7 separate regions of the Homo sapiens genome follow, and all the other regions are linked to region 1. Evidence: promoter capture Hi-C in 16 types of primary human blood cells and fetal thymus (Javierre and others, 2016). All regions are on one chromosome and are shown on one strand. Each heading gives the region's core, a stretch centred on a gene start or on the middle of the fragment in contact. The rest is flanking DNA. Distances are from core to core; before and after follow the strand shown. Region 1 holds the start of HINT3 (histidine triad nucleotide binding protein 3). Region 2 overlaps TPD52L1 (TPD52 like 1). Region 3 overlaps LOC124901395 (a long non-coding RNA gene). Region 4 overlaps HDDC2 (HD domain containing 2). Region 5 has its middle 29 kb from the start of HDDC2. Region 6 overlaps LOC107986640 (a long non-coding RNA gene). Region 7 overlaps LOC102723341 (a long non-coding RNA gene).

The links. The method cuts DNA at HindIII sites, captures the fragments that hold promoters and counts their contacts. A CHiCAGO score of 5 or more calls a contact.
Region 2: a contact is called between a fragment that was not itself captured here and the fragment with the promoter of HINT3 in region 1, in 2 of 17 cell types (M0 macrophages and M2 macrophages). The highest score is 5.3, in M0 macrophages.
Region 3: a contact is called between a fragment that was not itself captured here and the fragment with the promoter of HINT3 in region 1, in 1 of 17 cell types (total CD8 T cells). The highest score is 5.3, in total CD8 T cells.
Region 4: a contact is called between a fragment that was not itself captured here and the fragment with the promoter of HINT3 in region 1, in 10 of 17 cell types (naive CD8 T cells, total B cells, non-activated CD4 T cells and 7 more). The highest score is 21.0, in naive CD8 T cells.
Region 5: a fragment that was not itself captured here is called in contact with the fragment with the promoter of HINT3 in region 1 in 4 of 17 cell types (naive B cells, total B cells, total CD8 T cells and 1 more); the score reaches 9.9 in naive B cells.
Region 6: a fragment that was not itself captured here is called in contact with the fragment with the promoter of HINT3 in region 1 in 1 of 17 cell types (total B cells); the score reaches 6.9 in total B cells.
Region 7: a contact is called between a fragment that was not itself captured here and the fragment with the promoter of HINT3 in region 1, in 1 of 17 cell types (naive B cells). The highest score is 5.9, in naive B cells.

Annotation. Positions count from the first base shown.
Region 1 is chr6:125,955,240-125,958,516 of GRCh38, reverse strand. It overlaps HINT3 (histidine triad nucleotide binding protein 3), which reads right to left and starts at 1,747. Exons shown (of 5, transcript NM_138571.5): 1 at 1,339-1,747. The coding sequence starts at 1,539. RefSeq lists enhancers at 525-574, 1,635-1,734 and a silencer at 1,245-1,464. The HindIII fragment of the contact is 9,214 bases long and covers 442-3,277 here.
Region 2 is chr6:125,164,101-125,167,377 of GRCh38, reverse strand. All of the region lies in intron 1 of TPD52L1 (TPD52 like 1), which reads right to left. Among named protein-coding and RNA genes, the nearest start is that of TPD52L1, 12 kb to the right of the region's middle. The HindIII fragment of the contact is 679 bases long and covers 1,331-2,009 here.
Region 3 is chr6:125,270,205-125,273,481 of GRCh38, reverse strand. LOC124901395 (a long non-coding RNA gene) reads right to left here. Exons shown (of 2, transcript XR_007059736.1): 2 at 1-2,966. Among named protein-coding and RNA genes, the nearest start is that of HDDC2, 30 kb to the left of the region's middle. The HindIII fragment of the contact is 3,024 bases long and covers 314-3,277 here.
Region 4 is chr6:125,287,833-125,291,109 of GRCh38, reverse strand. All of the region lies in intron 4 of HDDC2 (HD domain containing 2), which reads left to right. Among named protein-coding and RNA genes, the nearest start is that of HDDC2, 12 kb to the left of the region's middle. The HindIII fragment of the contact is 4,848 bases long and covers 1-3,277 here.
Region 5 is chr6:125,328,971-125,332,247 of GRCh38, reverse strand. No RefSeq gene overlaps it. Among named protein-coding and RNA genes, the nearest start is that of HDDC2, 29 kb to the right of the region's middle. The HindIII fragment of the contact is 1,474 bases long and covers 1,002-2,475 here.
Region 6 is chr6:125,351,732-125,355,008 of GRCh38, reverse strand. It overlaps LOC107986640 (a long non-coding RNA gene), which reads right to left. Exons shown (of 3, transcript XR_001744328.3): 3 at 1-2,862. Among named protein-coding and RNA genes, the nearest start is that of HDDC2, 51 kb to the right of the region's middle. The HindIII fragment of the contact is 9,886 bases long and covers 1-3,277 here.
Region 7 is chr6:125,379,959-125,383,235 of GRCh38, reverse strand. All of the region lies in intron 1 of LOC102723341 (a long non-coding RNA gene), which reads left to right. Among named protein-coding and RNA genes, the nearest start is that of HDDC2, 80 kb to the right of the region's middle. The HindIII fragment of the contact is 2,239 bases long and covers 381-2,619 here.

The DNA.
Region 1 (3,277 bases), core at 498-2,997:
ACGGGTCTCCATACCTCCAGACTGGTCTCCTCCAAATCATTCTCCACAATGATGCCAGAATGACCTTTCAAAGATCAACCCCCTTCCTATAACTCCGCAACATCTTCCTCCCAACCCACCATTAAACATTGTGAAGTTTCACTTTGCTCTTCAGATAAAGACAAATTCCTTCACATGACTTCCAACACACTTAATAATCTGGTCCCTTGTTTACCTCTCCAGCCTCGCCTTTCATCCTCTCAAACTCTATGCACTAGTTAGACAATTTCTGTTAGTTTTTCTATCACACAAACTGAACCTCTCGGGGGGTCTCTCAACCTGGGACATTATTCTCTCCATTTCCTCATCTGATCAACTCCTACTTATTTCTTCATGTCTCATTTCCTCTGGAAAGCCTTCCCTAATTCTTCAGAGCTGGGTTAGATGCTCCTCCCACAAGCTTACAAAATACTGTAAAATCACCTGACCACAGCACGAGGCATTGTAACTGGCTACCTCCTCTGTATACATTCCGCCCTTTAGATTGTAAAATCGGGACACAGACTGTCCCTTATCTTGCTCAAAAACCTCCAAAACAAGGTGCTTAGAAGGAATTATATTTATTTTTTAAAAAATAAAGGAATGTTTACTACAAAAGACACAATCTTTGGAGCTAATTCTCTCAAAAAGTTGTTTCTATATGGACAAGTAAAACCAACAGAATAAAGTGTGTGCCAGATTATCCGTTTAAAAATATCTGGGCAAAGTCTTCATGCTCTGAAAATGTCCACGCATCCCAACTGACAGTGGAATTCAGAGGCAATTCAATAATAGTTTGACCTCAGACCCACTCCCTCCAGCCTATTTTCTGCCAATCTAACAAACAGCTTTCCACAATTATCATTACCTATTTTCTACTAGTTTTCTCATCAGTATCGGTATTAGAGTGTGCAGGATTTAAAATCAGTATCTTGAAGGTGGAGAAGAATCCTTGTAATAAAAGCAGAGGCCACAAAATGTTATTTGTACCAACTACCTGGGTACCTGCAAACATAGGCCAAAGCATTCGGCCCTGTCATTCACTCTTTGCCCCTGGGAACAGCAAAGATACCGCTGGAGCCACTGCCTGTCAGTCCCCTAGGAGTGAGTCTGTCATCAGCACCCGGACCCTGCAGAAAGGCCCGTAGTGGGCGTATCCCCAGCTTCCCCGAGCCCCATCCACACAGAGCGGCCCTGCCTCTGCGAGCTGAGTAGCGATCGGGATCCTCTGCACCCGCTCCACAACGGCGAGGCCTCCCTGCCGGAGCTCCGAGGGGCGGCCAGGTCCTCACCCACCCCCGGCCGCGCGTCGCCGCCCACCTCGCAGTGCAGGAGTTCGGTGCCCGGGTCCTGCCGCCCCGCGATCCGGCAGAACACGCAGGTGCTGTCGTAGTCCTTGGGCTCTGGTGACTTGCCAGCGGCTTCACAGGTCCCCACTGAGGAAACCGTAGTTTCTGCAGTCGCCGAGGCCTCACAGTCGGGGGCCAGGCCGGCGCTGCGGTTCACCTGTTCCTCCGCCATTGCACCCGCCCCTCGCGGCCTAGAGCCTCGGCCTCTCCAGGGCTACCGGGCCCGCGCAGTCTCCGCGTCCCGCACCTCCTCCGTTTTACCTCGAGACGTCGCCCCTCGCCTGACGCTGGGCGGTGATCCAGGCTTTGGGGAGAGGGAAGGAGACGCGGTGAGGAACTTCAAAGCCGGAGGCCGGCCTCAAAACCGGCTGCCACTAGAGGGCGCGCAATGGCGCTGCCGAGAGTCGTCCTGACCCCTGCGCCTCGTTGGTAATGACGCACGACGTCTGCCAAGTCGCAGAGCGCCCAGCGCGTCGTGGTGACATCACAGAGGCGCGGGAGCGTTTGACATAATGGAGCTTGTTGGGTGTTCTGGACAGGCGTTCTTCAAAGCCCATAGTATAGCGTGTCCAAATATTGTATTACGCTGCCGTTTTTTTAAAAAAAAAAACAAAAAGTTTTTTAAAGTTTGATTTTTAAAATTCGTAGGTTTTTAAAGAATGAGCAAAATTCCTAAAGCCTTGTTTTCAACAGACATCATGTTTGCTGCTTTTTCAGCCACGATAATTGTAGGAGTTTAAACTCAAAATGTCCAAAACTGACCTTTACATCTCTGTTGACTTTTTATTGTTGTTAACAGCACAGTTAGATCAAACTAGCGACCTTTTTTTTAATCTCACATTCCTCATATACAAGTAGATGTGGAGTCCTATAGTCAATACTCTGAAATATCCCAGAAATTCAATGCCAGTGCCTCATAATGCCTCACCTAGACCAACGCAATCACCTTCTAACTTACTTATTGATTTTCCTGTCACTCAGACAAAACCTTCTGTAACTATGTGCTCAAAGAAAAAGTACCAGTTCCTTAGCTTGGTGTTCAAGGTGGACTCTGATTTGACCTCAGCTTTTCGTTTTGTGATACTTCCCACTTGCTGAGCATCTAAAACATGCCATATATTTCTCTAATTGTCAAAAAACGCAAGGTTGGTTTTATAACCACCGCTCTAGAGATGAAGGACCAAACTCAGAGTTGCCCAGTCCCACACAACTAATTAATAGTGACAGAGTTTAAGATCAAGGTTTGTCTAACTCCAAAACCCACCAACCTTTTTGACATACAGCACTCCTTTTTTAACACCAAAAAATTTGTTGGACTAGCTCACTATAGTAGTTACACCCTTGGTATTTGCTGATTTAGAAAATACATAACAAATTGGGAATTCAGTAATGATTTTTAATGGATTTATGTTGTAATAAAAAGTGGTTGTATGTGTTTTGAATTGTTGTACATATACATTCAAGACATTTTTCATTCCTTTTTGTAGTTGGCCCGTAGTTTGGGGAACCACTACAATAGCTTCACTGCCTTTCAGCACCCCAAAGCAGAGTTCAGAATCAATACATTAGAGTTTTGCCAAATTTTAGTATTCACAATTTCCATGCCTGTACTACACCTTCACATCACTGCTTTTATTCACACAGTTCTCTCTCAAATATTCTTGTTTCCATCTCTTCACTCCAAATTCTACCTTCCAAGCCACCCCTCCAATGCTACCTCCTTCATGAAATTTTCTTTAGCCAAACTGACATAAGCACATCCTCTTGCAAATTCATATAACAGGTTTTCAATATTTCTCTTGTAGGATTTGTCTCTTTGTATCTTATAGCTATTTATGTACTTATTTATCCTGCTAGGAATTATGTTTCTTGGCAACAAGATTGGGTGTGTGAATCTTCCATAATGCCTA
Region 2 (3,277 bases), core at 421-2,920, 790 kb after region 1:
GTAATGCCCTTCATATATTGGGTAAAACATGAGCAAATGATGCGTGCTGAAAGGAATCAGCGTTTTCCACCCCAAAATATGCCACTTTGCCATAAGAGGTGTTTTTTTGTTTTTTGTTTTATTTGTGTTTTTTGAGACAGGGTCTTGCTCTGTCACCCAGGCTGGAGTGCAGTGGGACAAACACCTCCTAAGCTCAAGTCACCCTCCCACCTCAGCCTCTTGAGTAGTGGGACTACAGGCATGCACTACCACGCCTGGCTAATTTTTAAAAATTATTATTTTTAGTAGAGACGAGGTCTTGCTATGTTGCCTGGGCTGGTCTTGAGCTCCTGGGTTCAAGCAGTCCTCCTGCCTCGGCCTCCAAAAGTGCTGGAATTACAGGCATGAGCCACCCTACCCAGCCCATAAGAGTTATTTTGAGCTGAAGGCATTTGAGTTCCCGAAATCCTTTATCTGACTAAAAGCAGAGGTTCCCAAAAGAACTCAGCTGTCACAAATTCCTCCCACTGGGAGCAACTCTTTCTTCTCTTCTAGACATTGTCACAAACTGTCATATCTCCCATCTATTCTCCTAAGGACCCATTTATCTTTTTTTTTTTTTTTTAAAGAAGTCATTTGCTCTCTCAATATTGCCTTTTCTCCACCTCCCTTTCCTGTAGTAAAATGATACAGAAAATCAAATCTCATCACTCCTTGGGGTATTCATTTCTTTCTATGACACCCTTGTGCAAGCAAAATTTAAAATAAATAACTTTGTAAGCTTTTTCTCCTGCTAGTCTGTCTGCTGTAAGTTTAATTCACAGGCTCCTAGGCACTTCACCTAAGAGGGTAGAAAAAAAGTTTTTCTTCCCCTCCAATGCTTATGAGAGCCTTCCAATCATTTTAAATAAACTTTACAGGTAGTGCAGGTATCTTGTAACTTCCTGTTGGAACCCTGGGATATCTAAAGAGGAATAACAGGAGCCAAGGTCTATACTTCTTCCCAGGGCTGACCTAACCCTTCAGGAAGAAAAACCATCTTTCCATGACGTCTTTATGTAGAAATGAGTCCATTTTGGAAAACAAAATGTTGGAAAATATTTATAGACAATGAGCTATTAGCTCTTTATGCAGAGAGAAAAATCAGTGAAAAACTACAAATATCCAACCATCAGAGACTTTAAAACTGAGAGATCTGAAGAGATCTCCTCCCACTACCCCCATCCCAAATTGGCTTTTTCTTTTGAATGAATCAGTTCTGCTTCCGTGAATATGCTTGGGAGATGGTTAAATGAATAAAACATATCCATGTAAACAAGTAATTATAATACTCATGAGGCAATAAAAAGCTTTCTTTTTTTGGGTACTCATTGAAATTAGTCCTTTCAGCCAACATCTAAAGGATACAAATCCTACTTTCTGGAAACAAGCACGCAGATCCTATGACTTATTTATTTTAAAATACTGAGATTACTGGGTATGGACGAACACCAAGTAGAATAACATATTTGAACCATTCCATATTTGAACTGACTTTTCCTAGCAGCTGGTGATAAAACTCTATACTGGTTCTAAGAATTACATCTCATGTGACTTTTACGGATCTTTTTAATCTTGAATCAGTTCTGCTTCCATGATCCTTGACAAGACGCTCTTGCTATTAATGGACAAAAGAAATGTCTAATTATAAGAAAAATGTATTTCCAAGGAGTTGAAGAGTTTTCCATATTTTAGATATATGTCAGGGAAACTGTAATTTGTATAAGATACAAATAACCATAGGTAAGTTTGGAGATGAGGTGTAACATATACATGCATTTTTCATGTGTGGTACATGATCTGGCTACAGCAAAGTGCTAGATTTTTGCCTTTTGAGAAAGAAGCAATATGTTGGTGACTAAGGGTATTCTTGGAGATTTGTGGTTTTATTCTGGGAACTTCACTTCCTCTGCATCAAAATGCATCACTTATAAACGATTCACACTGTGAGAAATTGCTTAAAATTCATCTTTCCTTGAGGACCCAAAGCTTCCTTTTAGCCATTTCAAATTCATTAAAATATTCTCCTGCCTTCCCTGGTACATTAACAATGCTTCTCAATTTAATGCATATATTTCAAATCATTACACTTTATTGCTTAAATATTCAATGAAAAGTAGGATGACAGATGTGAATATCCACATTTTGAGGTCACCTTTTATGTGTTCTTAACTGTGTAGTAACTCAGTAAATTTTTTCTTGTTTTACTTTTTTCTTTTAGTTTTATATATGTATACAAAACTATATATATACAGTTAAAATATATATATATATCTTTTTTTTAAGAGACAGGGGTTTTGCTTAGCCTGGGTTTGAACTCTGGAGCTCAAGTGGTCCCACTGCCTCAGCACCTTGATTAGCTGGGACTATAAGCACTCACCACCATGATCAGCTTAACTCAGTAAATTGAAGAAGTGACTGGCTTTACGGTGTTGTTGGGGACATTTCGCAACAGAAGTAATGGTGAACCTCTGCCTGCATGGAGAGCATGCCAGCTGATCAATGACTGAGGCAGATGCCCTCTTTTCTGCAGTTGCTGCTTCAAACCGTGAAAATTCAACACAGAGATGGCTAGAGTCGCTTAAGGACAAATCCATTGATGGCTCATTTTTTTCAACAGTTTTACTAGGTATTTTCTTAAAGTAGTTATTCTGCTAGTATGGTTGGGAGATGGTTAAATGAATAAAACATATTCGTGTAAACAAGTAATTATAATGTTCATGAGGCAATAAAATGCTTTCTTTTTTGGGGTACTCATTGAAATTAGCCCTTTCAGCCAGCATCTAAAGAATACAGATTCTACTTTCTGGAAAGAAGCATGCAGAGCCTGTGACTTTTATTTATTTTAAAGTCCTGAGATGACTGAATATGGATGAACACCAAGTGGAATAACATATCTGAACAGACTTTTGTTTGAGCTGGTGATAAAATTCTGTATTGGTTTAAGAATCACATGTCATGTGATTTTTATAGAATTCTTCATCTTGAAAACAGAACAAAAATAGCAAGCTGTTGATAAATGAGCATCCTCCACCCGCAACTTGACATGTCGCAAGGCTTACTCTTAAAGATCTCCAGTCCCATTCATATTCCCAGACTTAGACCCTGCCCACATATGAAATGAACTGTACAATTAAATTCTGCCCGTTTAAAGCCTCTTTGATCATATAGAAAATAAAGCAAAACCATTATTTAAAACTTTGCACACTGACTGCTTGTGCATACAAAGTACCTATAGAATGGTAATTGAAATCTCAAG
Region 3 (3,277 bases), core at 576-3,075, 690 kb after region 1:
ACTGGTAGGTAAGGCCACCCTGTGTGCCCACAGACCCATAAACTCCCAGGGGGCACAAAGTCCCTTGGGGCCCAAACTTGGGGGCTGCTTGTTCCAGCATACCTTCAGTATGGTGACATGTGTTATGTTTACACAGGCTGTGATGGGTACCTATCCCACAGTGGTGTTACCCCAGTGTTGCTCTATGCTCTGCGACACCTGGGCTGGGGGTACTACATGTTCCCCCGCTAGCCAGCCCCAGCCATCATAAATGCTATGGGCCAGCCACATGATGGGAGCACCATGGATCTTGCAGCGTCCTTTGTCCAAAGCTTGCTGCGTTGCATTCCAGATGTCAACCACGGGACCCCAAGTCTCCAGCCATGTCCAGTTCTCTGTAGACACTGAATGTATATGCCAAGGCAAGTCATCTGCAGCTGCTGCTGGAAGGGCAGTGCAGACCCGAAAGTTGGAAACATTGATCACCTCAGCACAGGTGTGGGCGCAGTTTACAATGCAGTTGGAGCATGTTAACCTATGGCCAAAATGACAGAGCAGGCACAGCTACTAACAGAGGTAAGTGACGTCCCTCAGGCAAAATACAGGCTAACTTTTCATCCATGGATAACAATGCAGCTGCCAAGAGCTTCTGCCCTGGGCGATGGTACCACACCTTCTCAGCTCCCCATGGTTCCTATGGGTCCGGTATCTATGCCAAAGTCAAGGGGAAGCTCATAATAGGCCACACAGACAGTACTTATGTCCCCCAGAGGAGCGTTTCTTCCCTGGCTGTTGCCCTAAGAACAATCAACCAAGGGTGACATGTATTGAATGCCCAAGGAGTGACATGCAAGTCATACTGTAGGTCTTCCCCACAGGGAGCTACAACGGCCAACCACCAGCAGTGGGGAGCCTGGAGGGTCCATGGCCAGAGCCAGGTTTTCTGTTCCCCTCCCTTCAGGGGCATTGGGGCAAGCAACAAAAGGTTACCGTTCGTCCCCATACCTGGTCGGAGGAGGTCATCCTTAGTGTGTATCTGCAACTGAATAGGGGTGGTGGCCCAGTGTAATAAAGCCTCCACCAGGGCTGGGCGGTCTTTCCATGGCTGTTCATTCAAGGTTTGAACCACCAGGTCCAGCTTGGAACTCCAGCACTGCAAAGACGGGTGTGACATGCAAGTGTAACCCATTCTTCAAGAGCCCTTTATATTGCTCAATCATACCCACAGCTTGTGGGTTGTATGGCACATGGAATCCCCACTTTATGTCCATTTGTTGTGCACATTGTTGTACCTGTTGTCCAGTGAAATGGGTGCTCTATCACTCTCTATGGCCAGAGGGCAACCATACAGGGCACATAAGTGTTGCAGGACCCGGAGGATGTGCTGTTGGTTGGCCACCCTGCAAGGGTAGATGTACAACAGGCTTGTGGCCATGTCCACAGCTGTTAGCACATGTGTATACCCTTGCAATTTTGGCAGCGGACCGATGTAGTCTACTTACCACCTGGTCAAGATCACTCGCCCTGTTGTCACTTGTGTAAAAGTGGGCAGCTGCCTCCATTTAGGGTATGACCAAGCACATACTGGGCATTTCTGACGAGCCTCCCAAATACCTTGCATGGGCAGGGACAGACCCCAACACTTATTGCCCTGTTACATCAGTTTGCCCCTGGCATGTCCCAGTTTCTGGTGTAGCCAGAAGGCCACATCTTGTGTTGGTGCCGACTAACCATTGGACCTTGGCCAAGACATCTGCCTCATCATTGCCAAAGGTGGCCAAAGGCATATGGCCTGACACATGATAAATAATTACATCTTTCTGATGATCCATTTCCCAGAGGTCTTGCCACATCACTTGGCTCCATGACATAGGTCAGTGGCTGACTAGCCAATTTTGTATTTTCCAAGTAGTTAACCACAAGGTTAAGCCTCGGTAGGCTGCCCAGCTATCGGTACAAATCACCATAGATATCTGCTCCTTAGTGATCACCATCTATACTGCTGTAAGTTCAGCCCATTGGCTACTTTGCCCACACCTGGTTTCAAACCATATGGTGTCTGTACTAGGTTGGACTGCAACAGCGGTCCAGGCAGCATTAGATCCTTGGCTAGACCCATCTGTGTACCATGCCCCATCAGGAATGGGGGGTACCCTTCCTTAAACGGTGATGGCTTGGGGTCTAGGGGTGCCCCAGGCCCTATAGCCTTCTCTTGCATTAGGACTATAGGTCCCAAGACCTCTTGCAATTCTGCTGCCAAGGGTCTTGTACTCAGCAAACTTTGCTGCTCCAAGTAGGTGCCCCACTTTGCCAAAGTAGATGTCTGTGCCATCCCAGTCCAGGGGGGCATTATCCATGAACACATCCATCCCACTATTGGGTAAGCCATCCACATGATGACTGTAGCCCATCCTGTCACACTTTCACAAGACTGAAATGCTGCATATACAGCTGCTAGCTGTTTCTCTATCAAGGACTGTTGGAGCTCAGCTCCTTTCCACAGTTAAGACCAAAAGCCTACTAGTGTTCTCAGGCACTCTGTATGCTGCCACAGGCCCCAACTGAAACCATCTGTGCTCACATGCACATCCAGCTCAAACAGGTGCCCCTGGCCAACTACCCATAGGGCTTGTGCCTGCTGAATAGCCCACTTGGCTGCCAGGAAAGCGGTCTCAGCCATATCCCAATTCCAGGTAGCTCTCTTCTTTGTTAACCGTGCAACAGTTTTGTCATTTGAGCTAAATGGGGCAGAAATGCCCCCCAGTATCCCAGGAAGCCCACAAAAGTTTGTAGCTGCTTCACCGTGGTGGGCCAGGGCTATGCCTGAATTTTGTCAATAATAGCCTCTGGTATGGCCATCATCTTACCTAGACAGGAAACTTCCAATAATTTGGCAGATAATCCAGACCCTTGGACCTTGGATTCATTGATGGCCCAACTGCATGCTGCCAAATGTTGCTGCAAGAGAGGCACCGCCACATCTAAATCTACAAGAGAATCAGAGGTTAACATATCATCAATATAATGGAATAGGTGGACCCCTTCTGCACATTGCCAAGTGGCTAAATCCATGACAACAAGACCATGACATATGGTGGGGCTATGCACATAGCGCTGCGGCCACATTGTAAAAGTCCATTGTTGCCCTTGTCACGTGAAGGCAAACTGTTCCTGGCTCTTGGAGCAATGTCGATGGAGAAAAATGCATTGACCAAGTCCACCACATAGTGGTACTGTCCCAGTTCCATTGTCAAGCAGTCCATCAAATCCATGATTGACGGTACAGCTGCACTCAAAG
Region 4 (3,277 bases), core at 227-2,726, 670 kb after region 1:
GAAAAAACAGTAGCACCTCATGTATTGTCGCCTAAGGGGGAAACACTCTTGTATTATTAATTTGAAAAACTTCTACAATAGTTTGTACCTTTGTGCCTAATTATTGTAGACATGGTGGCAGTTATCTATTAAATTATTTTCTTAGCCATCAGTAACTGGTGAAAAACTTTACTGCAAAATTTACTTGCAGTAGTATCTTCCAAAGATAAATGCTACAAAAGCTATTTAGAACGGCTTTGAATTTGAACAAATATAAAACAGAGAATTAAAACACTTGATAACCCCTAAAGAGGTAATAAGTTTACTATCTTATAAATGTCATTGGTTGAATTAATGAAGCCTGATAAAGATTTCTCTCCAAAAGCAAAAGGAGGATTCTTCCTTGCCTCTTTCTAGCTTTTGGTTATTGCAGTCCTTGGTTCGCAGACACATCACTCCAGTCTCTTCCCTGTAGTCACATGGTATTGGCCCTACGTCAGAACCCATGTCCAAATTTCTCTCTATTGAATAAGGGTCCGCTCTCATCAAGTAAGACCACGTCTTAACTTGATCACTTCTGTCGAGACCCTATTTCCAAATAGGGTCACATTCACAGGTCACATTTACAGGTTGTAGGCGGACATAAATTTTTCAACATAGTATTCAACACAGTACAAGTTTCTGTAATAATTTATGCATTTTATACTTCATGTCTAATGTTGGTACATAAGTTTCAGACTTCCAAGGTTCAAATAGTGGCTCCCCTGTTTACTAGCTGTGAGATCTTGAGCAATTAATCTCTCTGTGCCTCAATTTCCTCATCTGTAAAATGGCAATAATTATAGGGTTGTAGGAATTAAAGTAATTAATATACATAAAGCAATGAGGATACTGCCTGGCACATAGTAAGCTCTATTTTTCTCTGTCTCCAGTCCATGTATCGTGGTTTTTGGTTTAAGAAAGTAGGGTCATTCTGTACTCACTGAGCTTAGAATAGCATTAGTTACATAGAAAATGACAGTTGATTGGTTTTAGAAATGCTAATTACAACTATTTATCACTTTAAAATATTTCTTAGCCCAGAGGATCACATCTATTTGCAGCCATTAAACATCCTTGATTATAATTTATCTTTTATCATAAAAAGTGAAATCACATTTCACCCAGCCAAGAAAAAACATTTTTATTTTATTTTTCTGAAAGTATCACAGAAAGATGTCTTCTCCACCACCTGCATTTTGCCTTAAAGAAATGTCCTTTTGAGCCCCAAGGCGTGAGGGGAGCCTCTCCTGCATGTGAAATGCCTAGTACACCCCACCGTCCTTGGATTGTTTCTAACCCCAAGTTTTCTCTCCACATTGTCAGAAGTTCAGTCAATTGGAGATACAGTTAGGTTAACAAGTACCCTTTTAAAAATGTCTCCCCCCAATTCATTCTTCAAAGTACAGGTGGGGCTTGATGTAGAGCAGCATAAGGACCCCAGAACCCTGGAGGGAGAGTCACTAGGAGGTTGGAGAGGGGAAGATGCAAAAGATAAACTTCCAAGAGATCAGCACTTCACTCAGGGCCAACCTTTTCCCCAGGAAGAAGGAAATGTTTTTTTTTTGTTTTTTTTGTTTTGTTTTGTTTTTTTTAATTTTTTTTTTTTTATTATACTCTAAGTTTTAGGGTACATGTGCACATTGTGCAGGTTAGTTACATATGTATACATGTGCCATGCTGGTGCGCTGCACCCACTAATGTGTCATCTAGCATTAGGTATATCTCCCAATGCTATCCCTCCCCCCTCCCCCGACCCCACCACAGTCCCCAGAGTGTGATATTCCCCTTCCTGTGTCCAAGTGATCTCATTGTTCAATTCCCACCTATGAGTGAGAATATGCAGTGTTTGGTTTTTTGTTCTTGCGATAGTTTACTGAGAATGATGGTTTCCAGTTTCATCCATGTCCCTACAAAGGACATGAACTCATCATTTTTTATGGCTGCATAGTATTCCATGGTGTATATGTGCCACATTTTCTTAATCTAGTCTATCATTGTTGGACATTTGGGTTGGTTCCAAGTCTTTGCTATTGTGAATAGTGCCGCAATAAACATACGTGTGCATGTGTCTTTATAGCAGCATGATTTATAGTCCTTTGGGTATATACCCAGTAATGGGATGGCTGGGTCAAATGGTATTTCTAGTTCTAGATCCCTGAGGAATGGCCACACTGACTTCCACAATGGTTGAACTAGTTTACAGTCCCACCAACAGTGTAAAAGTGTTCCTATTTCTCCACATCCTCTCCAGCACCTGTTGTTTCCTGACTTTTTAATGATTGCCATTCTAACTGGTGTGAGATGATATCTCATAGTGGTTTTGATTTGCATTTCTCTGATGGCCAGTGATGATGAACATTTCTTCATGTGTTTTTTGGCTGCATAAGTGTCTTCTTTTGAGAAGTGTCTGTTCATGTCCTTCGCCCACTTTTTGATGGGGTTGTTTGTTTTTTTCTTGTAAATTTGTTTGAGTTCATTGTAGATTCTGGATATTAGCCCTTTGTCAGATGAGTAGGTTGCGAAATGTTTAATCTTCCTGTTTTCCTTTCCTCTGCCTATTTAGTCCTCCATTTTCAGGACCTAGAATTTGAATCTCCATCCTGCTTGGACTCCTTGTCCCTCTGTTGCTCTTTGAAACCCCAGTCTGAGTCCTCTCCTGTCCTACCAGAAGGCTGCGAAACACTGATTCAGAGACTCTGTGCCGTGGGGACTGGGGTCACAGCCGCCCTGGCCACCAGGCTCTGCAGAGCCTCAGGGCTGCCAGCACCCCATCAGTGGGCCTCGGGTCACCTCCCTGCCCCTTTCTCCCCCTCCCCTGTCTGTGCCCCACATCAGCTGTTCAGCCCTCTCTTCAAGCATCTATCTTGTCACTTCTCCCCTGATTTTATAGCAAGTATTCTTGCCTCTTCCTTCTTTGAGAACATAGACACTGTCAGATAGGAAGTTCTCCAGCTTTTTAGAAGCCTTGCAAATATGTTCACCAACCCTATTTCAGAATAATTTTCCCTGAATGCCACATTTCCCTACTTCTCTTCAGCACTAAACAGGTGAGGAGTTCGCTGCACTCCCCAACTCTACTTCCTCACAGCCACCATGCTGTGACTGACAGGCCCACCAGGCACTGCTCTTGCTAAGGTCACAGCCGGCCTTCGGCCTTCGTGTGGGTGTGGCTGGATCCGGCAACCCCGCTCTGCCTGTGTGCTGCCTGACACTGTGGCGGCATGAGGTGTTGCCACTCTCCTGCTGAAAACCTCAT
Region 5 (3,277 bases), core at 489-2,988, 630 kb after region 1:
AGCTAAGAAATGATAAAGGAATTCTAGAGTCAGATGAAAATTATGCCAACATTAATAAAGTAATGGATCTAGGAAATAATTATTAATGGTGGCTAGCATAGTGGGAGGGTGGGGTGGATAGAAAGAGAGATTAAGACAGAAAGAGAGAGAGAGAGGGAGAACTGAAATTAAATAACATGGACATACCTATGAAGTAATCTTGCTTAAAAAATAAAACAAATCTGAATAAGCTCTAGATTTAACTATCAATCTATGAAAAATATAAGAAACATAGAAACACACACTAAACAACATTTCATGGATGAAATCAACAAAATCAAGACTGCAGGACACTCTACAGTACAAATGGCCCAATTTGTCAACAGAAAATTGCAAGGAAAAAAAAAGAAGAAAGAAAAGGAGGAGGGGGAACCAAGAAGTCAAAGGAGACTTGAGAGACCTATTAAGCAATCTCTATGTATAGACTGTATTTGGACCTTGAATCAAACAAATTGTTAAATACACACACACACACACACACACACACACACACACACACGGCAATTTGCAAAATGTGAACATTGAATATTTGATAAGAAATTTCTTATTTTTAGGCATGAGAATAATATTGTCATTATATAGTTTTGAGTCCCTATCTTTAGAGAAACATTCTAAAATATTTATAATTTATATAATGTCTAGATTTTGTTTCAAAATAATCAGCATGAGAGTGGAAATGGGGAGATGGCTGAAACATGATTAGCCATGTGTTGATCATTGTTAACACTGGGTGGCCAGCACATGGGCATTTCTCATACTATTGTCTCCACACTCAGATGTGTTTTAATTTTTGTATAATAAAAAAGCTCCCAAAAAATAAAATTACTAGAAAATAAAAAATACATTAAATGCGCAAAAAATTGCTTACAAGGATATACAAATGATGAGAAAGCATATAATAAAGTTAGACAAACAAATGAGGAAAAACAAGAATGACACAGAAAACAAGCAGGAACAAAGCTTAAAATGTATATCATAAGGACCTCCACATAGGCTACTGGTGGGTCACGTATTTGCCCAAAAGTTTTTAGTAGTTAATGTAAAAAGTGAAACTTTTGGCCAGGCATGGTCAGACATGTGCCTGTAATCCCAGCTACTTGGGAGGCTAAAGCGAGAGGATCTCTTGAGACCAGGAGGTCAACGCTGCAGTGAACTATGATTGTGCCACTGCACTCCAGCCTGGGCAACACAGTGAGACACTGTCTCCAGAAAAAAAAAAAAGTGAAATATTTGAGTTACAAAGTTTTTAATGTCAGATAAATATTAATCGCTCCGGAAAAGCTGCTTGCTCAGTAGTTTAAGCATGCTTAAAGTTAAGATTTTACCAGAATTTCTCTGGAAGAAGTCTCTTGAAGGGGACATAGTGTGCTTATTCATTCATACATTCATTCATTTATTCACTCGTTTTTTCAGCAAACATTTTTTGAGCACCTAGCACATACCAAGCTCTGTGTTAGAAGCTGGAGTCATGATGATGAACATGAAGACAAAAGGGACTCCTGCCTTCACAGTGCTCACAGTTCAGTGAAGAAAATGACAAAACAAGGAATTAAGATGAAGCTGTGATGGGCAGAACTCAGCAAGGAGACCTAATCCCAACCAAGGATAAAGGAAGAATTATTCCCTGGAGAAAGCAACAGTTTTCTTAGTTGATATCTGAATTGAGGGGCAGGAATTAACTAGGAAAGGGTAGTAGGAGGGAAGAAGTTCTCAGATGGTGAGAAAAACCAAGATGGATGGAGAAAACAGAGAAGAATAAGTTGGTGGTGATGAGGCTGAGGAGGCAAGCATCAGTCTGAATGTGTCCACAACCAACTCCTGATTTTCTCCAAGAATTTGCTCCACTTCCAGTCTTCTCATGTCAGTAATGACAACTACATCCTTTTAGTTGCTCAGTCCAAAAATCTTGGGGTCATTTTGGTGCCTGTTTTTTTGTGTGGCGGTGTGTGTGTGTGTGTGTGTGTGTGTGTGTGTATGTGTGTTTTACAATGAACATTCAATCCCTCAGCAAACCCTATTTGTTCTCAAGTAAATCCAGAATCCAACCCCTTCCCACCACCTCCACTGCTACAGTCATTGCTTCTCACCTGGATTATTTAAACAGCCCCCTCCCAAGTGATCTTTCTGCTTCTATCCTTGATTATCCACCACAATCCCCTAACCCCAGTGGCTAGTGGGATTTTTTTAAAATAAATATCTTAATTCAAACCTCAATGGCTTCTATGCTCAGAATAAAATCCGAAGTCCTTACAAGGTCCTGTATGTCCCTACACTATTGGGCCCTCACTGACCTGGTTTCCTGCTACTCTTCCCCAGCTCACTAATGGCCTCCTTGCTCTTCTTCAAATGCACCAAGCACATGTGTCCACTAGATATAGCATTTGTTCTTGCTGGTCCCTCTGCTTGGAAGGCTCTTCTCCCGGATACCCCCAAGCTTTCTTTCTCATTTTCTCAGGTGTCTGCTTAAATACTTATTTGCAAGTGACACTTTCTCTGACCATTGCATATGAAATAGTAATACCCCCTTTCCTGAATTTTTCTATATAGCCCTTGAATTAATTGAAGTAGCCATTTGCTATTGCAACAACTTCAAAATTTCAGTAGTTTAATACAACAAAAGCTTATTTCTTACTCATGCAACAGTCCAATAGGATGTTTTTTATCGAACAACATTTCTAAGTAGTTCATCTTTTAGCAATGATTCAGGTCTCAGGCTCCATTCGTCCATGACTCTTCCATCACTTTGGTCCTCTGAGTCCACTGATACTATTTGTTGCATCTGCTATCAGATAGGTGAAGAGGAGGCAATAGAGGATAACAGGGAAGTTCATTTTATGGGCCAAACTTAGGAGTGGCACACATCTCTTCTGCCCATATTCCACTGGCTACAGTCACACAGCTGCATTCACTGCAAAGGAAGCTAGAAAATGTAGCCCAGCTCTGTGCCCAGGGGAGAAAAAAGAGAGTGTGGTGAACACTTAGCCAGTCCTAGCCACAGCCTGTCTTTCATTTATGGACACCAAACACTTGTTTTGCTCATCCTGTGATATGTAGAACACTTTGCCCTTTTTCCATGGGAGGCAATTCTAGTCCCATTGAGTTACTGTATCCAGCTCAAGTCCAGGACTTCTGGGTGATGTGAAGTCCTCTCCATAGGGCTCTGTGAACCACAATTTAAATGACAAGTTACCTATCCTTTCACCTAATATTCACTTGGGAACAGGAATGGGATAATCAC
Region 6 (3,277 bases), core at 382-2,881, 600 kb after region 1:
CTTTCTGGATGGTAGCCAGCACTTAGTATGTACTTATTGAATTAGCAAATGAATTAATCTATGTTTGGAAAGATAAAGAAGCTGTCCAAGTGAGGCAGTGTTAGGGGCAGTTTCAAGTGAAAGAAACAAGTGCAGAAACTCAGGAAATAGAACGCACAGCTGTTTGAGGAGGGTCATTGGCCTGTTTCGGTAGATAAGTAAGGTTAAAATGTAAATTATGTAAATTGTAGCGGGAGAGTGATCTAAAATTGGCAGGCAGGGCCACTGTGTCTCCAACTAAATTGGAGAGAGAAATTCTGTAAGAGGCATAAGAAGGCTACCTTCCTAGAGCTAAGTGCCTCTTGATATCCATACACAGCTGAGATCTTCTGACTGGACTATCTATCAATTGGTCTTTGACACAGTTTCAAAACAGTAATAGAACACAGCAGTAGAATATTTCATGATGATGACAGCATAGTTGGAGCATTCAAGTCACTCACTCTGAGGTTAAATTTCCAAGTGTATTTTTCTCTTAGATTTAATTTCTGGTTGAGAGAACAGTTCCAAATGTAATACAGATCTATTATATGGATATAATGGTGGAATCTGTTTTTCCTGCTTCACTACTTATTTGTCAGCTAAGAATCTTGAGCAAGACAGTTAACATCTCTGACATGATCATCTTGTTTGTAGATAGGGAGGAGTTAATGATGGTATCTCAGGGATTGGGAGAGTAGCAGTATACCTATGTATATTTAAATTATCCAAAACAAGGTAAATGTGTATGGTATGCACCATATGTAAAAATGTAAAAAGGGATAAATATAGATATTTGCTTGTATTGGAATAGAATACCTCTGGAAAAATACACAATAAATTAGTGACAGTAATTGCCTCTGTGGTGGGGACTGGGGACAGAGGTGAGAGAAAAGATTTTCATAATATGCATGCCCTTTCCTACTTCCTACTCTTCTTTCTTTTCTTCACCCATCCCTGTCTTTCTTATTGCTAGTAATGGCTAATGTAAAGCATATCACTCTTTTGCATGTATCACTCTTCTCCCTGACTCTACTGCTATGTCAGAACTGGGACTTCTACTTCACAGAAAACATAGAGATTATCTTCAGATACGTCTCAGTTTTATGATCATTGTCTTAGATATCACTTGCCTTGGCATTAGATTTTACTTTGATTTCTGCCATTTCAGAGGATAAGCTCACCTGCTCTCTTTCCTCTCTTTATTTGTATATCTGTCTCTGTCCCTCTTTTTGTACATTCTCGGTGGTATTGAAGTATCCTCATATGTTTCTTATCCTTAAAAAAACCATTCCCTAGCCTAGACCTTGTTAGCTGCCATTTTCCTTCTCTTTTCCTCTTTATAACTACATTTCTTAAAGACTTTTCTGTATTTTCCCTCTCAACTTTATCATTAATAGTCACATTTTGCCCCACTGGATTTGATTTCCTGCACTCCCCTGAAACAGTGTTCCCCAAGCTCACTAAAGGCCTCTGTTGTTATTAAACCCAATGGACGTATTTTCTATCTTTATTTGACCTCTGCCCAATACATTGTCACCAAAGTCTACTTTCTTTCCGTATTTTTCTTCTGTGACTTCCATAAAGCCTTCTTCCTTTTCCTCACCCTTGTCTGAGTGGGGAGTTTATCTTACTTGTTCTCATAAAAATCTAGGGGTACATCTAGTATGTAATCATCTATGGACATGAACACGTATTTTCTCCATTAGACTGTGATATTCTGAAGACAAGAACTGTGTCATTTCGGTTTTTGAATCCTTAGTGTCTAGGACAGTGAGTTCATCAATAAATGTTGCTTTATAGAACATTAAATGAAAGAGAAAATTTTCTTCTCTAACTTTAGTTTTAATGCTAACTGTGACAGGAACAGCTTCTTGCCTCTAATATCCTTTCTCGTTCTCTTTCTTTATAATGGAAACTTAACTGTGTTCAGCTGTGAAATTACATTTCCCGGCCTCTCTGGTTTGGCCATATGATGAGGCTCAGGGTAATGGGAGGAAAATAGAAAGTACCTCCAGAAGGCACTTTAGAAAGGAGGATCATATCTTCTTTCCTTATTGTTTCTTCCACCGTGAAGTGAATAGTTACAGCTCTATCAGCCCTCTTGTGACCTTGAGAACAGAAGGCAGAACAGCAAGAAATAAGTCTAGGTCTGTGAGATTTTTGTAGGGTTCTATGGTTTGAATGTTTGTACCCTCTCAAACTTATGTTAAATTTTAATTTCCTTTGTAACAGTATTGAAAGGTGGGAACTTTAAGAGATAATTAGACTGTGGGGGCCCTGCCCTCATGAATAGATTAATGCTGTTATTTCAGAAGTGGTTTCCAAAAGGATAAGTTTGGCTCTCTGTTCTCAATCTCTCTCTCTCTTCTCTCTTTTTTCTCTTTCTTTCTCTCTCTCTTTTTTCTTTCTCTCTCTCTCTCTCTCACTTTCCTTCTCTCTCTCCCTCTCTCCTGCCCTTTCTTTCTGTCTCCCTCCCTCTCATCCCACCCTTTGCCCTTCCTCCCTAGGATGATGTAGCAAGAAGGCCCTTGCAAGGTGCCAGCCCCTCAACCTTGTACTTCCCAGCCTCCAGAACCATGAGCCAATACATTTTTGTTCATTATAAATTACTCAGTCTGTTCTATTCTGTTACAGCAGTACAAAATGGGTTAACACAAACAGTTACCACACCAAACCTGTAAAAAATACCTCTCAACTTTTAAAAAAAAAGAGAATATGCCAGGTACTATGGCACATTCCTGTAATCCCAGCTACTCAGGAAGCTGAGGCAGGAGGATGGCTTGAACCCAAGAGTTTGCTCCACTGCCCTCCAGACTGGGGGGCAGAAAGAGGCCCTGTCTCCTGTAAAAAAAAAAAAAAGAAAAAGTAAGATAATAGACATTTAAACTGTTTAAGTCACTCTAAGTAGATCGCTATTACTAACAGCTGAACTTAATTCTAACTTATGTACATCCTAAAATAAAAGTTCTTAACATAAGTTAGCACATCTTAGTGCTAGAGAATCAAGCCTTTGTTTCTCTAGTTCACTTACACCATAGGGGTAGATTTAGGTGAAACACAGAGTCTGGATGACCAGTAACATGTTTGATGTCCACAGCTTCATGGGTTTGTCCAGAGCAGTGGGCTCTTGTAGGGAAAAAGTGCGAGTTTAGCAGATTAAGATGTGGTTGTTATTTAGGAACCAATTTTTGAGGGTGAAAGTGACTTGATTAAATCTACACTAGATTATTCAAGAAGTCATTGGATTGAACAGGCC
Region 7 (3,277 bases), core at 251-2,750, 580 kb after region 1:
TTGGAAGGAAAAAAAACAAAGAGACAGATTACAATATTATGTTCATACTATTACATTTTATTTTTATTTGTAAAGATAGGGTCTCGCTGTGTTGCCAGGGTTGGTCTTAAACTCCTGGGCTCAAACAATCCTTCTGCCTCAGCCTCCCAAAGTGCTGGGATTATAGGCGTGAGCCACCAGGCCTTTTCTTATTATTATATTTTTTATATATGCATAGAAAAATACCTAGAAAGATAGACTTAAGTTAGTCATGGCTTCCTATGGATATTAGGGTTATGAGCGAATATTCCTTTGTTTTTCTTTCTGTATTTTTACTTATCTATGTTCTCTATTTTTCTAAAATAAGTATACATTTTTTAAAAAATTAAAAATCCAAAGCTTTAAAAATCAACTAAGAGATCACTAACATTGGGATAATCCATATATGTCTTTCTTTTTCTTTTTCTCTCTCTTTTTTACTTAGCTGAACTCTCATTTTTCTAGAATAAGCATACTTTTTTAATTTAAAAAATCAAAGGCTATAAAGAATGAACTAAAAAGACATCAAAGGAATTTTTCTATTTTGAATTCTAGCTGTTTCATGGAGAGTGAAAAGACAAATACCTGTAAATAATGTCTGAAATATAAATATATTATAAAAGAGTGAAGGACTTGATATAGCCTTAGAATATGAAATAGATAATTGAAGTCCCAATCTCTTTGACTGGCTCTAAAATCACATACATTTTATTGTCTTGCCACTGTGCTTAGCTGTTGGAGAGTTTTATACCAATAACGGCATGACTAATTTGATGAAGATCTTAGGAAGTAGGGAAACAAAAAATATCTATGTGGCTGACATATGGGAAATCATATGAAAAATATGAATTTCCTTTTCCCAAAAAAGTTGTCAATAGAGGACAGGTCAAATTTCTTTAGTTAGCTCACTCTTATTGATCATATAACATGTACCCGGGACTGTACTAGACACTTAATTTAATTCTTAGAACACTATGAGTGAGGTAAAACTATTGCTTCCATTTTTCAGAACAGAAAATTGAGGCAACAACATCAAGCAGCTAGTAAGTAAAAAACTGGGATCAAATCCTGGCAGTCTTTCTCTTAACTACTGTTCCACTGCTTAGGGAAAGTTTAGCCAGACTTTGGTCCTTATATGACAATAGATGAGATGGTGGTTGAACTACCATTGTGTGTTAGACAAAATTTATGAAAAATATACAAAGAACCCATTTCATTTCAGAGAATATAGTCATAGGTGTGAAAGAAACTTTAAGATAATGGCAGTTCTTGCCTTCCAGCAGGTGAATACCTGTTTCTTACATGATCATCTGTTGTCTATTCAGTTCTAAAATACCTAATGATACAGAATTCTTTGTGGAGTGCTGCAGAAGGCAGGCTCTAAGTTGACTCCCAATGGCCCTCACTTCCTAACATTTACACTCTTGTATAATCCCCTCTGCTTGAGTGTGGGCTGCACATGGCCACTGGCTTCTGACATATGGAAGAGGGCAATAGGGATGGGATGGGATGTCACTTCCGAGATGAGGTCGGAAACACTATGACTTCTATCTTGCCCATTCCCTCTCGCTCTCTTTCATTCTCTAGCTTACTCTGAGGGAGGTCTGAATGCCATATTGTGAGCGGCCCTGCTGAAAGACCCATGTGGCAAGGATCTGAGATCATTGGCCAACAGGCTGCAAAGAGTCCTACCAACAGCCAGGCTGGTGTTCTTGGAAGTGGATCTTCTCCTACTCTCCTACTTGAGATGACTGCAGCCCCAGCTAACACTTCGATTGCAGCCTTGTTAAGATATCACGGGCCAGACACACCCAGCTAAGTTATGCCTGAGTTACTAGCCCACAGAAATGATAAGATAATAAATATTTGCTGTTTTAAGCTGCTAAGTTTTGGGTTAATTTGTTATACAACAATGGATAACTAATACAAGTGCAGTCATTGATCTCATTGAACACACCCGTAATTCTTTGGAAAAATGTCTACTTTCTCACCAAACTAAAATCCATTAATTCCAGTAGTTAGGTGTTTGGCAATGCCTTTAAAACGATGCATAGAAGTACATGGCCAGGTCTTTAAAATTGCGTTGCTAGACTGAAGAAGAGCTGTCTGACTTACTGGGCTTCCCACGTTCCTGCCTTCAGTTCCTGGGTTAGTGTCACAGGTTGCGGATTTTCCACTCCATCTCCCAGTCATGTCTCTGGCACTTCCCCCGCTTGGCTCCTAGTAATCAACTTTGGCTGACCTCTAACTCTCCACCTCCTGGACCACAAAATAAACCCAATGCTCTGATCATAGCTCCTCTGCAACTATGTTTACTCCTTGGTTTGGGATCTGCCCAGACTCTCATTACGCCTGCCATAGCATTATCCCTCTGTCCTGTACCTACGGATGAAGCAAACCATTGATTTCTCCAACTATGCTAAGTAAGAGCAAGTCATATTGTAAGTAATTTAATAATATAGAATTTCTAGAGTTATAAAATAATGAAGCAATTTTATAAAAACTATCTTTTTAACAGGTTAAAAAATAAAGCAATGTCATCATTTCCATTAAATTTTGAACAATAGAAGGCAAGCACTACTCATTTCTAAAAAGAAAGCTTGCGCTTTTGAGGATGAAAAGGTTTGAGTTAATTGTAAACCATGTAATCATATGGTTATTTTTTAGCTTTAAACTAATAAAATAATGGTGCCTTCTTATCACGGTAGGCAGTGCGTCAGTCTCATAAACTAATACAACATTTTGCTCTACAATACATTTGAGGTGTTTTCTACATCAAGAATTTGCCTCACACTGACAAAATAATTGTGCAACATATATTCGTTGAAAAGCTATAAAAGACAGGACACTGGGCTGGGCTTTATGAGAGCACAACAAAAATGAAATTAGAAAAGTTGGGGAGAAATATTTTTTAAAACTTTCCCTCCAATTCCCATCTCTCCCGTGAAATATGTTGGAAAAATATTTTTCTTCCTTGCTTATATGGCACCCGAACTGTCAATCTCTGAATACCAAAAATTAAAAATTTCTGGAAAAAAATCATTTTATATAACCTACTTTTGTTCTTCAAACTAAAAAAATCATTTTAGATTTGCTTTAAAACTACTAAAACTTATATTTTGTATATATTCCAACTTTCTTAAATGGTCAAGGATCTTAAAACATTTATTTCCTGCTTCTAGAATTTCAAAAAATCTTATCTTACTCTTAGACTTACTCAATATGCACATATATGAGAGCATTTAAAGCAAGTAATATC